Linked DNA regions of Homo sapiens: region 1 is linked to region 2. The links are contacts of gene promoters, found by promoter capture Hi-C in human tissues and cell types (Jung and others, 2019). All regions are on one chromosome and are shown on one strand. The core of a region is centred on a gene start or on the middle of the fragment in contact, and the rest is flanking DNA. Distances in the headings are between cores, read along the strand shown. Region 1 holds the start of SNORA22 (small nucleolar RNA, H/ACA box 22). Region 2 holds the start of VKORC1L1 (vitamin K epoxide reductase complex subunit 1L1).

What was found. The method cuts DNA at HindIII sites, captures the fragments that hold promoters and counts their contacts. A contact is called where the count stands out against the background at its distance.
Region 1: a contact is called between a fragment that was not itself captured here and the fragment with the promoter of VKORC1L1 in region 2, in 3 of the 25 tissues and cell types used here (dorsolateral prefrontal cortex, hippocampus and mesenchymal stem cells).

The regions. Positions count from the first base shown.
Region 1 is chr7:65,754,935-65,758,274 of GRCh38, reverse strand. All of the region lies in intron 2 of LINC03006 (long intergenic non-protein coding RNA 3006), which reads left to right. It overlaps SNORA22 (small nucleolar RNA, H/ACA box 22), which reads right to left and starts at 2,749; the gene lies at 2,616-2,749. It also overlaps the pseudogene CCT6P1. The HindIII fragment of the contact is 6,285 bases long and covers 1-3,340 here.
Region 2 is chr7:65,871,306-65,874,842 of GRCh38, reverse strand. It overlaps VKORC1L1 (vitamin K epoxide reductase complex subunit 1L1), which reads right to left and starts at 1,769. Exons shown (of 3, transcript NM_173517.6): 1 at 1,278-1,769. The coding sequence starts at 1,471. RefSeq lists enhancers at 268-819, 1,371-1,922 and silencers at 988-1,057, 1,605-1,784, 1,498-1,997, 2,018-2,077. The HindIII fragment of the contact is 24,487 bases long and covers 1-3,537 here.

The DNA.
Region 1 (3,340 bases), core at 646-3,145, 120 kb after region 2:
CTTCTTTGAAAGAGCATCTAAGGAAAAGGGGTCAATTCCCTATAACAAAAATAAAAATTAGTTTCAACATCTTTCACCTTAAAAGTAAAAAGGATGATACATACTATTTAGTTTATACACTGGATTTTCATTCTCACCTTTTGATTAATAACAAATCCTTTATCTGAATTACTACAGACTTTCCTTTTCAGTTCTATTATTTGTTTTAACTCTATCTTCAATGAATTTTCTTTCAGCTTTTATGAGTTTTTCTCTTTCTGCACTCTTGTAAAAAACGCCAGAATTCACTTCTCTATTAAGAAAAAAAAAAAGTTACAGAAAGCAGGGAAACATTTATTTTTTGAGAAAATAGCTTCTGAAACTGGATTAGTCCTAAGATTTAACAAACAGCTCACTGAGCTCCAATCCTGCCCCTTGCACATCTTCAGAGGCTGTTTCCTATAACTCTCCCAAACCAATTTGAGGATTATTGTCCTTACAGTGGGAAACGAAGTTTCACAAAAAAGTAACTCACCTAAAACACGAAGCTCCTCCATTTAAGTTAAGGGGCTATAAACTTAAGTTTTTTCATATTCTAATGACACGTTACAAATGAGGATATATGCATCCTCCACCCTTTTCTTCCTATCAAGATGCTATGCTCCATGGTCCAAAACAAGCCCTCTGATTAAGCTGTTCAAACATACACAAAATTATGGTTATTGATTTCCAGATGGGTGTACGTTAAACACCGAACTGAGAAGGCACTGATAATTTTCATGCAGTCAGCGTTGTTTCTTGAATTACTTGAAGATCCTATGCTGTACAGAAAAGTCTGCAGAGATAGTCTCCCTGGTAGGCTGTCAAACTGTGATGATATCTTTTAAAAACATGTTTTCTGCCAAGTGCCTGTAATGCCAGCACTTGGGGAGGCAGAGGTGAGAGGACACCTTAATCCCAGGAATTCAAAACCAGGCTATGCAACATAAGGAGACTCCATTCTCCATAAAAAGAAAGGAAAAATGAACATATACATGTTTTCTAACTAAGTCTTTAGAAAAAAAAATTTTTTTAATTCCTCTACTGCTTCTCATTATGCTTTGTACCTAGCAATTCAATAAACGCCAAATGACTGATGTTGTTCACCTTTCGGAATAATTCTACCCATAAATACAACATAACATTCACCTTATTTCAGGAGAAAATATTACTAAAAGTAAAAACAATCTTCACCTAGCAATTTATCCAACTTATATCTTTACCTAGCAATTTATCCAACTGATATCTTCAGGTAAATATACAATATTTTATATCCAAATATATTAAAAATTTTGCCAACAATATATATTGTACAAAGCACCCCTAAATTTCAAAACACACTTTATTAGTTTCTTTTTTTTTTTTTTTTGAGATGGAGTTTTGCTCTTATCACCCAGGCTGGAGTGCAATGGTGTGGTCTTGGCTCACTGCAACCTCCGCCTCCCAGTTTCAAGCAATTCTTCTGCCTCAGCCTCCCAAGTAGCTGGGATTACATGAGCCCGCCACCATGCCTGGCTAATTTTTGTAATTTTAGTAGAGACGGGGTTTCCCCATGTTGGCCAGGGTGGTCTCGAACTCCTGACCTCAGGTGATCTACCCACCTCGGCTTCCCAAAGTGCTGGGATTACATGCCTGAGCCACCAGGCCCGACCATTAGTATTTCATAGTCTTCTACCACCTACCTTGTATCAGTTTCAGATTTATGTTTCTTGTCAATGATCACAAAATCATGAAGAGATCAATAGGTTCATCTTTTCTTTTAATGGCCAAAATGGAGCCCACTACAGCCTGCAATAGGAGAAGGATAACCATTAAGTAAATTCAATTTGCAGCAGCAGAAACATGTTGCTTTTCAGAAGGCTAAAGTAGACAGTTTCTTCATTTTACAATCTCTACACTGATTTGTATTTTTCTATAAGCAGATAGAATACATTATATATGAACAGCTGTTACATTTCTGAAATCTCAATCTGTAATTCTCAAACATTAACATTCCTTAACATTAACATTCCTCCTGGTGTTTCATTAAAAATACTGATAACTGGAAGCTTTCTAATAACAAAATCTCCACTTTATAAACCTTTTAATGAAAGCTCCAATTTTACTTTTAAAACCCGGTTAGGTATACTATTATTTGAATTTCCTCATTTTACTTTTTAGAGACACAGATTAGGTATCACTGCCACAAAAATGAACCTACATAGCACCTTGTGATTGAAATTGGTAATTATATTCATGTTTCTACTATCAGAGATTTTCTACATAGGTGTACCATACCAGACACAGACAAAATTTAATACATACCTCTGTTAAGACATCTGCAAGTTCAGCATGAACTTTAGTACAAAGAGATGCCCTGGCCACATCTTTAAGTGTTTCCTTGTCCATCTCTCTGCTTACTTTGACTTCTTCCAAAAAATGAAGGGCTTTTCCTTCACAGCTTCAAATCCTTCAGTGATTATTCTGGGATGAAGGCCCTACAATAAACACACAATAACACTTGCATCTTCAATTAGGTGCAACTATAGTTCATGATAAAGTTCAGACAATTCTTGGAGGGATACTCTGATCATCCTATCTTTGAACACGAGGTAATATAATGTGCTGGCTTTCTGAATACATTTAAAAGGATAAATATTCCTTTTAATGCAGAGGAGAAGAGCAGGCAATGCTCTAGCACAGGGTCAAAGCCAAGGGAACTATAAAGCACACTTGGGTGTTCACTGTGCAAACCACTCCGAATCATGTCAAAACCGACACTGTGTCCCAACAACTCACAGATGGTAGCATTATTCTATCTTTTCTATAGGTAATCTCAAACTAATTCCATCATTTACTAATAAAAATAAATAAAGACTATCTGCTCTCTTTTACCCGAAAATTCTGACAATAGATTCGTAGTCACTGAGGTTTGTTTTAAACCTTGGAACTAGTCAGGGCTAAAAAAGTGGAATTTATCTAAATGTAAGCTTTTGGTTGTCTCTTTCCTAACAAATAAATATGCCTAGTCCTAAACATCCCATTTTAAAATCTCAATTATTAATCTAAAGACAGATACAAATCACATAGGCAATTCAACTTGATTACAAAATTATTTTCAGGCCAAAAAAGGTTCCATAACCTGTCCAAGCTCACAACAAATTTGTTTTAGACCAAGACAAAGACCCAGATTTAAGCCCCCTAATCCTACTGTATGGCCTCCGCTAGTATTAACACATCAATTTGTATAAATAAGTATCTGACACGTCCTATATACAATAATATATTACAGAAACAAGAGTTGTGTGCCGGGCGCGGTGGCTCACGCCTTTAATCCTAGCAC
Region 2 (3,537 bases), core at 520-3,019:
TTTAAAAATTATTTATTTATATTTTATTTATTTATTTGAGATGGAGTCTCATTCTGTTGCCCAGGCTGGGGTGCAATGGTGTGGTCTTGGCTCACTGCAACCTCTGCCTCCCAGGTTCAAGCAATTCTCCTGCCTCAGCCTCCCGAGTAGCTGGGACTATAGGCACATGCCACCACACCCAGCTAATTTTTGTATTTTTGGTAGAGACGGGGTTTCACCATGTTGGCCAGGCTGGTCTTGAACTCCTGACCTCATGATCCACCCGCCTCGGCCTCCCAAAGTGCTGGGATTACAGGCGTGAGCCACTGTGCCCGGCCAAGAAAAGTCAATTTTAAGCACTTAAGCAGGCCAGGCGCGGTGGCTCATGCTTGATTCCCAGCACTTTGGAAGGCAGAGGTGGGTGGATTACCTGAGGTCAGGAGTTCGAGACCAGCCTGACCAATATGCTGGTCTCGAATATGCTAATAGGCAACAACGTTTAAAAGTCATTCCAATGCCTAAAACACCACCATATACATAACATACTTGTCCTTTACTCCAATGAAGCTTAAACTAGACCCAAACTCAGACCATTTCCTTCTCCTGGCACACTGAAACATACGAGAGGGAATCCAAGAAATCAGATATGTTAAGTGCGGGTATCTTCTTCCACAGTAGGGTCAAATTCGTGTTTGCCAGCAAATGTCACCGTCCCAGTTAAGTCTGCAAATTCTCACTAGCGCTGGAGTACAAAGAGGCCTGACCACGGAAACACCTGTCCTAGCACCAGGAAGACAGTGGGAAAGGCAACCCCCCTGTCTCCGCGCCGGCCCCAAAGCCTCGGCTGCAGCGATCGGGGGGACAAGAGGTTGCCGCTGGTCTCAAGGGTGCGGTGGACAAGGTCCCACACCCCCGGCCCGCCTCCCGAGAACCAGGAAACCTGTCAAGCCAGCCTGGACCCACCCTCCGCAGCCCCCTCGCGCTCCTGCACAGCCGGGCCCCAGCCCGCCCGACCGCTCCGCGTCCGCCCCGGCCTCCCGGCTGCACTCTGCCACCTCATCCCTCCCCGGCTGCCTCGCGGCCCCGCCACCTCCGCCCCGCGGCCTGGGCTCAGGCCGCCCCCCGGGCAGGAGCGCCCCGCCGCCGCCCCCCGCCTGGCCCCGACCCGACCCCGTCAGTTCCCCAGCGGCCCGGTCCCCGCCGCCCCCAGGCCTGAGCTCCCGCCGCGCGCTCCCCACCCCGAGACTCCACCCTCGCCCCGCTCGGCCGCTCCTGGCCCACTCCCCCAAGCCGGCTACCTGGAGGCAAGGGCGGCGGAGCACTTCACCCAGGGCCCCAGGTCGCAGAGGGCCCGGTGCTCGGGGTCCCGCTCCTTCTCCCGCTCCACGTGGTAGGCGTAGATGGAGAGCAGGATTCCGGCAGCGCACACTGCATACCGGGCCACCCGCTCCCACCGCGGCACCGACACTCTTAGCAGGACGGGAGCCGCCATCTTCCCGCCGCCGCCGCCGCCGCCTCCCTCCGCCTCCACCTCAGCCGCCGCCGCCCGTCGGGGCCCGACCCAGCCGCCACCGCCGCCACCGCCGCCTCCGCCGCCGCCGCCACCACCGCCGCCGCCGCCGCCGCGCCCCATTGGCTCGGTGGCCTGCTCCGGGCCCCGCCCCCACAGGCGCGCGGCCCAACCGCCCCAAAAGGAGTGAGGCGGACGGGGCGGGGAAGGCGCGCGCGGGCGCGGAGGGAGGGGGTGGAGTGCGCAACGGCCGAAGAGGCCGGATCGGCGGGCGGAGACTGAGGCGGCGTGGCGCTGCGCCGCGCGGCCGGTCGCGCGCGAGGGGTGGAGCCCGGGGGAGAAAGGGGTGGGGCAGGGGTGGGGATGGGCGGGGCAGGGGTGGGGAGGGGCGGAGCCAGAGAGGGGCGGGGCCGAGCGGGCCAGTGCGGGAGGGACTTAAAGGAGCGGTCTAACTAGCACATTGCAAGGATGCCACTGTGGGTGACTGGGCGAACCCTCGGCCCCTCCCTCTGGGGATGGCAATCAATTGCCATCCTTTTTCCCTTTTTCGTTGTATATTTCTGACCCAATCCAAATCAACCCTGGCCAATGCTTGGAGCTCCAGAGACCCACACCTATGACCTGATCTTCCCACCACCACCTTCGGTTAGACCTGTGCAAAACTTTTTTTTTAATGTGCAAAACTATGTTTTAAATTTAAAAACTATTTTTAAAAAATGATTTATGGACCGGGTACAGTGGCTTACACCCGTAATCCCAACACTTTGGGAGGCCGAGGCAGGTGGATCACTTGAGGTCAGGAGTTCGAGACCAGCCTGGCCTACATGGCGTAACCGCGTCTCTACTAAAAATACAAAAAACAAACAAAAACAAATTAGCCCGGTGTCGTGGTGGGCGCCTGTAATCCCAGCTACTCGGGAGACTGAGGCATGAGAATTGCCGGAACCCGGGAGGTGGAGGTTGCAGTGAGCCAAGATCGTGCCACTGCACTCCAGCCTGGGCGATAGAGTAAGAGTCTCAAAAAAAAAAAGAGAGATTTACGAATGCCTTGCTTTTCCGTAAGCTGAATTTGAAGTTGCTTACCATAACTCATATAATATAGAAAAATAAAGATGAGCTAATACAATCAGGACGAAGAAAAAGAAAAGTCAGAATAAAATGAAAGGCCAGGAATAAGAACACAGATAAGCAGGCCATAGGGGCTTACATAGTTATTAAAATTGCATCATAAATTTGGCTCTGAGCTTCCTGGTGGCCAAAACTAAAAGGAAAACAGATGTATGTGCTTTTTCTCACTGTCTTTAAGAAGAAACACAGGGTTCTTGGAGATTTTCAGTGTTTCCCTGGTTGCAGCTTTCAATTTTTCAGGGGCTTTATATAGTGATTTTGAATAATAAGCAATATCCTTGTATTCGTTATCTATTGTTGGGTAAAAATCACCCCAAATTTAGCAGTTAATAAACAATAAACTTTTTTTTCCCTCACAGTTTCCACGGGCTAGGAATCTGGGTGAGGTTAGCTGTGTCCTCTGGCTCAGGCTCTCATGAGGATACAATCAAGCTGTCAGCCAGGGCTGCAGCTCTCTCAAGGCTTCAGAATCCTCTTTCAAACTCACTTCCACTGCTGCTGGCAGGCCTGAGGTCCTCTCTGGCTGTTGGCTGGAGACATCATTTCCTGTCCACTTGCACCTCTTGGTAAGAAGCGGCAGGCTTACCCCAGGGAGAGGGAGGAGAAAGAGGAAGAGACAGAAAAAGAAAATGAGAGTGAGATCACAGTCCTTTTTTGAAACCTAATCCCAGAAGTGACATCCCATCACTTTTACGAAGTCTATTGCTACTTAGAAAATAGTCTCTAGGTCCAGCCAGTCATGGTGGCTCACACCTGTAATCCCAGAATTTTGGGAGGCCGAGGTGGGTAGAGCACCTGAGGTCAGGAGTTCGAGACCAGCTGACCAACATGGTGAAACCCCGTCTCTACTAAAAATACAAAAATTAGCCGGATGCGGTGGCACATGCCTGTAAACCCAGCTACTTGGGAAGCTGAGGCAT